Linked DNA regions of Homo sapiens: region 1 is linked to region 2. The links are contacts of gene promoters, found by promoter capture Hi-C in human tissues and cell types (Jung and others, 2019). All regions are on one chromosome and are shown on one strand. The core of a region is centred on a gene start or on the middle of the fragment in contact, and the rest is flanking DNA. Distances in the headings are between cores, read along the strand shown. Region 1 overlaps MYH11 (myosin heavy chain 11). Region 2 holds the start of MYH11 (myosin heavy chain 11).

Evidence for each region. The method cuts DNA at HindIII sites, captures the fragments that hold promoters and counts their contacts. A contact is called where the count stands out against the background at its distance.
Region 1: a fragment that was not itself captured here is called in contact with the fragment with the promoter of MYH11 in region 2 in 1 of the 25 tissues and cell types used here (IMR-90 fibroblasts).

The regions. Positions count from the first base shown.
Region 1 is chr16:15,725,978-15,729,207 of GRCh38, reverse strand. MYH11 (myosin heavy chain 11) reads left to right here. Exons shown (of 41, transcript NM_002474.3): 28 at 2,154-2,360. NDE1 (nudE neurodevelopment protein 1) reads right to left here. Exons shown (of 9, transcript NM_017668.3): 9 at 2,855-3,230. Among named protein-coding and RNA genes, the nearest start is that of NDE1, 77 kb to the right of the region's middle. The HindIII fragment of the contact is 9,950 bases long and covers 1-3,230 here.
Region 2 is chr16:15,855,202-15,858,502 of GRCh38, reverse strand. It overlaps MYH11 (myosin heavy chain 11), which reads left to right and starts at 1,475. Exons shown (of 41, transcript NM_002474.3): 1 at 1,475-1,562. RefSeq lists an enhancer at 1-429. The HindIII fragment of the contact is 11,295 bases long and covers 1-3,301 here.

The sequences.
Region 1 (3,230 bases), core at 261-2,760, 130 kb after region 2:
TCTGGGGTCTTAGGCTGGGCTAAGGTTTCTGGGAGCCCATGTCCCCTAGGGTCCCCGCTTCACTGCTTTGTTACCACCAAGAGACTCCCTGTCCCCATCTGAGGTCTGGCAGCTCTTAGTCATGTCTTGGAGGGAGGACGGGCATCCAGGGCTGACCGGTCAACGTCCAGCACCTCCCAGGGACTATGGGAAGACTGAGTGGTGGGTCTCGTCCTCTCGGGATACTTGCGCTTCTCTTTCCCCTTCTCTACAACCTGGAAAGAAGCCCCTCACCGCGTCCTACTTTTGCCCAACACGCTTTTTTTTTTGAGACAAAGTCTCACTCTGTCGCCCAGGCTGGAGTGCACTGGCGGGATCTCGGCTCACTGCAACCCCCGCCTCCTGGGTTCAGGCAATTCTCCTGCTTCAGCCTCCTCAGCAGCTGGGATTACAGGTGACTGCCACCATGCCCGGCTAATTTTTATATTTTTAGTAGAGACGGGGTTTCACCATGTTGGCCAGGCTGGTCTCAAACTCCTGACCTCAAGTGACCTGCCTGCATAGGCCTCCCAAAGTGCTGGGATTCTAGGCCTGAGCCACCGCGCCTGGCCCCAACACACTTTTTTTTTCCTGTAGGGCAACTCACATGCCTACAGGAGCTGGTTCCATAAAATAAGTTTCCCTTAACTAGGACAGAAGTAGCAGTGTCAATCACACGACACCTGTGAAGGACGGGGGCGGTGAAAGGTGACTGCCCCACCTGCAGAGCCAGCCGCTACTTAGATGTGGCAGATTGTTGCCTTGAAGGAAAGCAAGACCCTCTGTTTCCAGATCTTTCGTTGTTGTTGGTTTTTTGTTTTTGTTTTTAAGTTTAGGATTACTGAGGCATATGTAGTAAAATTTATCCATTTTACTGCTCCATTAATTTTAACAAATGTGTATTGTGTAACTACCACCACCACAGTCACCACATAGAATGTTAGTTATTGATTGATTGATTGAGATGGAGTCTCACTCTGTTACCCAGGCTGGAATGCAGTGGCATGATCTTGGTTCACTGCAACCTCCACCTCCCAGGTTCAAGCAATACTTGTGCCTTAGCCACCCCAGTAGCTGGGACTACAGGCGTGCGCCACCATGCCCGGCTAATTTTTCCATTTTTAGTAGAGATGCAGTTTCGCCATGTTGGCCAGGCTGGTCTCGAACTCCTCACCTCAAGTGATCCACCTGCCTTGGCCTCCCAAAGCTACTTATTTCTGAAACAGGGTCTCACTTTGTTGCCCAGGCTGGAGTGCAGTGGTGTGATCATAGCTCACTGCAGCCTCCAATTCCTGGGCTCAAGCAAGCCTGCCATCCGCCTCCTGAGTAGCTGGGATTGCTGGTGTGTGCCCCCCACACCCAGCTAATGTTTTATTTTAGTAGAGATGGGGGTCTCACTACATTGCCCAGGCTGGTCTTGTACTCCTGGCCTTAAGCGATCCTTCTGCCTGCTTCCCAAAGTGCTGGGGATGACAAGTATGAGCTGCCATGGCATGCCTTCAAACATTAAAGTTTTTTGAAAAAGAAGCTGGGAATCCAGATTTTTATGTGACATTTATTAAAATGTCGGCAACTCATTTTTTTAAAAGTAGTGAAAGGGTCAAAGGGGACATGTCAGCAGGTTGGATACCGCTTGTGGGATTCCAGATTGCAACCCATGAGCTTTAGGAAAATAGAATCCAAAATATCAGCTGGGTGCGGCAGCTCACGCCTGTAATCCCAGCACTTAGGGAGGCCAAGATGGGTGGATCACTTGAGGTCAGGAGTTCGAGAGCAGCCTGGCTAACATGGTGAAACCTCGTCTCTACTAAAAATACAAAAATTAGTCGGGCATGGTGGCGGGCGCCTGTAATCCCAGCTACTTGGGCAGCTGAGGCAGGAGAATAGTTTGAACCTGGGAGGCGGAGGTTGCAGTGAGCCAAGATTGTGCCACGGCACTCCAGCCTGGGTAACAGAGTTAAGACTCCATCTCAAAAAAAAAATAACAACAAAAAAACCCCAAATCTCTTACTGGTGATTGTGTGCCCCCTGTTGTGTGCCTTCCTGGACCTCTCTGAGGGAGGAAAGGGCAGGGCCTGAAACGTTCTCCCGGCCACAGCCTCCCTGTTATCCCTCCCCTCTGCTTCCTTCGCCAGGCCAAGGCGAACCTAGACAAGAATAAGCAGACGCTGGAGAAAGAGAACGCAGACCTGGCCGGGGAGCTGCGGGTCCTGGGCCAGGCCAAGCAGGAGGTGGAACATAAGAAGAAGAAGCTGGAGGCGCAGGTGCAGGAGCTGCAGTCCAAGTGCAGCGATGGGGAGCGGGCCCGGGCGGAGCTCAATGACAAAGTCCACAAGCTGCAGGTGAGGAGGTGGCGCGGTGGTGTGGTGGGCAGTGCTGGGTGGTGCCCAGTTCTGTGGGGAGGAGCCTCTTCCCGGCTCGCTGAGGTCTCTCTTGCTGCAAGGCAAGTCCTTTCCTCTAGTTGCGTTCCTGGAGGAGAGGCGATGATCTCCCTGTTCAATTAAATATTAAAAAAACCTTCTGGCCAGGCACGGTGGCTCATGCCTGTAATCCCAGCACTTTGGGAGACAGAGGTGGGTGGATCACCTGAGGTCAGGGGTTTGAGACCAGTCTGGCCAACATGGTGAAAAGTCTCTACTAAAAATACAAAAATTAGCCAGGCGTGGTCGTGGGCACCTGTAGTCCCATCTACTCGGGAGGCTGAGGCAGGAGAATAGCTTGAACCCAGGAGGCAGAGGTTGCAGTGTGCGGAGACCGCACCATTGTACTCCAGCCTGGGCTAAAAGGGCAAAACTCTGTCTCAGGAAAAAAAAAAAAAAAGAAAAAAAACCCTTCCTTTTCCAATTTGATAAGTATTTATTGAGCACCTGCTGTATGCCAGGCACTGTGCTTAATCCTGAGATCCAACAGCAAGGAAGAAGAGACACTGTCGCTGCCCCAGTAGGACTCCAGCCGAGTAAGGGGAAGGGAAGGGAAGGGAAAGACATGAATAATCACACAAATGAATGTCAAATGATGCAGCAAAGGGAAGGCACATGATGCCCAAGTGTAAATAACCAGGGGGCCTAACCTGGGGGAGGAGGAGCCACGAAAGGCTTCCCTAAGGAGCATGGATAAGTCTACCAGGCAGAGGGAACAGCGTGTGCAAAGGCCCTGTGGTAAGTAGAAAAATTAGGAGAGAGACATACAGCCAGTAGAGCTGGAGTGCCCAG
Region 2 (3,301 bases), core at 226-2,725:
GGCCACTCGGCACCATATTTAGTCAGGGGGAGCCGGCAGCCCAGAGCTGGTATGCGGCGCTGGGAATTCCTGCAGGAAGGAGTCCGCGCCTGCCCTTTTTGGGTTGTCTCCCGCCCGCCGCTCCCGCCGCTCCCGGGGAGGGGGACCGGCCCGGCCCGGCCCGGCCCGGGAACCTCGGAGGAGCTGGTGCCGCGCGGGGAGCGGAGCGCCCGGGCTGCCCGCGGGTCCCCGGCCTGGCGCGGGGCCAGCCCACCGCCTCGACTTCCTTTTATGGCCTGTGTGTGCGTGCGTGGACAGGAGCGGGGAGGGAGGGACGGGGAGAAGACGGAGAGCCTGGGGAAGAGAGAGAGAGAAAGCGCAGAGATAGGAGTGAGACACGCGGGAGAGATGGAGAGCAAGAGACACAGAGACCAGAGACAAAGTGAGACAGGAGGGAGAGACAGATACATCGACAGATCTAGAGAAGCGAGAGGGACAGAGACAAAAGATAGAGCGAGAGACAGCAATGATCAGAGTGACAGACATGCAGAGACAGTGGCAGAGACAGAGCGAGAGAGCCTGTGATGGAGAGAGACAGGGAATGCAATTTTAGGCGAGGAATCCTTGGGGAAGGGAAGTTGTTGAAGGGAACTCGCAGACTCTGGGGGCACACCCACTTTCTCCTTGGATCTTGACACTTGCATCTTGTAAATAACGTAATTATCACCGCCACCGCCTTCCCCCATTTTGTAGCTATGGACACCAAGTCTCAGAGAAGTGAAGTGACTTGCCCAAGGTCACGCAGCTGGCGAGTGGCGCACAGGGGAGGGGGACAGCTGAAATAATCACAGTGGGCTTATTTTTAATTTTTATTTGTATTTTGGTCGTGGTGATGTGGGTGGAGGTGGAGATGGCAAGTTGGGAAAAGTAAAAACTTCCCCTTCCTGCACGGTTCCCAGCAAGGGTGGGGGCCTCCTGTCTTGCACTTTGCAAAGTTCAAGAAATCCCCTTTCCCTACCCTTCACGCTGCACAGCCGGCCCTCTTTCCAGACAGTGCGATGCCAATAAAATGGGAAGTGGGGTGGGAGATGTCAAGTCAGATCCACCACAGCCCCGACACGGGGAGGAAGAGGTTAAAGCCTTTGCGGCCGGAACCGACTCAGGGAAGACGTTCTCAAGCATCCCGCACAGACACTGCCTGCTCGACCCCCTTTCTCTAGGGATCCGGAGCGTCTGCGACCGCCTGGGGCCGGGGCTGAGACTCCCGTCCCTGTGCGCACCTGTTCCGTGCGCCCTTGTGCGGTGCGCACCTGTTCCGTGCACCCTTGTCCCGAGCGCCCCAGCTCCTTGCGCTCCCGCCGGGGGTGCGCCCTGCAGGGGGCGCGGCGAGGGGGCCGCGAGGGACCCTCCCCAACTCCACCCCTTCGGCCTCCTCCCCTTTCCCAGCCGCGGGCAGCTCCGGGTCTATAAAGAGAGGCGTCCGAGGACGCGCAGGGAGATTTGGACGCTCCGGCCTGGGAGGTGCGTCAGATCCGAGCTCGCCATCCAGTTTCCTCTCCACTAGTCCCCCCAGTTGGAGATCTGTAAGTAGTAGTTGTCATTCTGGGGGCAGATTGCAGGGCAGGGGGGTGTTAAAAGTCCTATAGGGTATTCTATAGGGGCTGGGGTGCACTTAGGGGTCCCTGTTGTCAACCTCGTAAGGGCCATGGTGGGGGCAGAGTTGTGATTTGGATCTCTCTCTGCCTTATCGTCTTAGATTATCCTAGACTTTCCCCAAACAGCATTTCTTAAGATTGCCAGTGAGAAGTACCATTTTGGGGGTGCTTATTAACGATATCAATGCCTGGACCCAACTCCATTTCCCAACTCTAGAATCCCCAGAAAAACTGCCTTAAAAAAAAAAAAATTAGTCCCGAGTGATTCTTGTTAAGAGGCTAATCCAGGAGATATGCTCCCTTGGAAATCTCAGAGGTCCGGTGCAGACAATCAAGGCATCTCACTTTTATTCTAGGCACCAAAAAATTTACAGCTGAACTTCACTGAAAAGTCACTTGCTATCACACAGAAGGGCAAAGTGAGGCTCCTTGTGGATTTGACCGTATTGCACAGTTGTGTTGATAATGCATTAAATCAGTTAAAAACACATGGGCATAGGCTTAGCAGAAAGGAGTGTTGTTGTTTTTTTTTTTTAATCAGTTTAGGGGAGGTTCTTCTATGTTGAGAACCCCTGGGAGATAAGGCTGGTTGTGATCTAGTTTGTTACAGCCCACTTTTTCCTCTTCTCCAAATTAAAAAAAAAAAAAACAACTCACCCAGGTTGACCCCAAAGGGCCCCCAGATACCCAGGTGGGCTCCAAAGTCTCCATTTGCTTCCACGATCTGCAGGTGCGTTAGGTAAGATTACACTAGAATTTCCCGCAGAGCCACCTGTGTCAATGCCACTCTCGTGCCCAACCAAATGGGTAAAACGAGAGAAAGTGTGGCTACTGCCTGTTGTAAGTTTTCTTCCAGCACAGGGTCTGGTAGGGATTTTGCCACTTGAGAAAAGGTACCATCCAAAGCCATGCTTGTCAAGAAGTAAAAGAAAATATTTAGAAACCCAAGGTGGGAGTGTTTAGTTGCAGTATGAAGAACTGAGAGATTAAATGGTGAACTGTCCGTCCGGGGTTTGGCAAAAAGAATGCAGGCTATTAATAAACTGCTTTGCATAGTTTTTTGTTTCTTTGATTTACTCAACGATACTATTTTAGAATTGTTCAGAGACGGAACTTGACGCTGAACTGAAAGTCATTAGGTGGCAGGGTGTGAAATAAGATAGAGAATTTTGTTTGAAGGAAATTGATGTTTTCCCTTTGAGATAGCTACCGTTGATGGAACACTTCAGTGCCACATGCTGTTGCAACATTTAACTTAATTTATCTCATTTAATCTTTGCAACAACTTCATAAGAAAGGCTTTATGATGCCTGTTTAGTATACAAGGCAGCTGAGGCTCAGAGAGGTAAAGTGTCACACAGCCAGCAAGTGGTAGAACCCATTCCCGGGTCAGTTTGAGTCCAAGTTCATACCCTTGACCCCACTATCTTTCTTCTTTACCATGGACACAAACTTGTTGGGGTCAGGTTTCTGGTGGGACTAAATGCTTCCAACAAAGTAAATGTTTATCACCGTGTCCTTTGAAGAAAACATAAACTGACTTTTTGCACATTTAAAATAAAAGGCACTGTTTGTCCCCTGATTGAGGGGGTGACCTAGCTGAAACCAGTGACCCTAGGTGGGCTGCCATGCCGAGAGTCCAGAACGTGAACTAGCTGGGTCTTTTC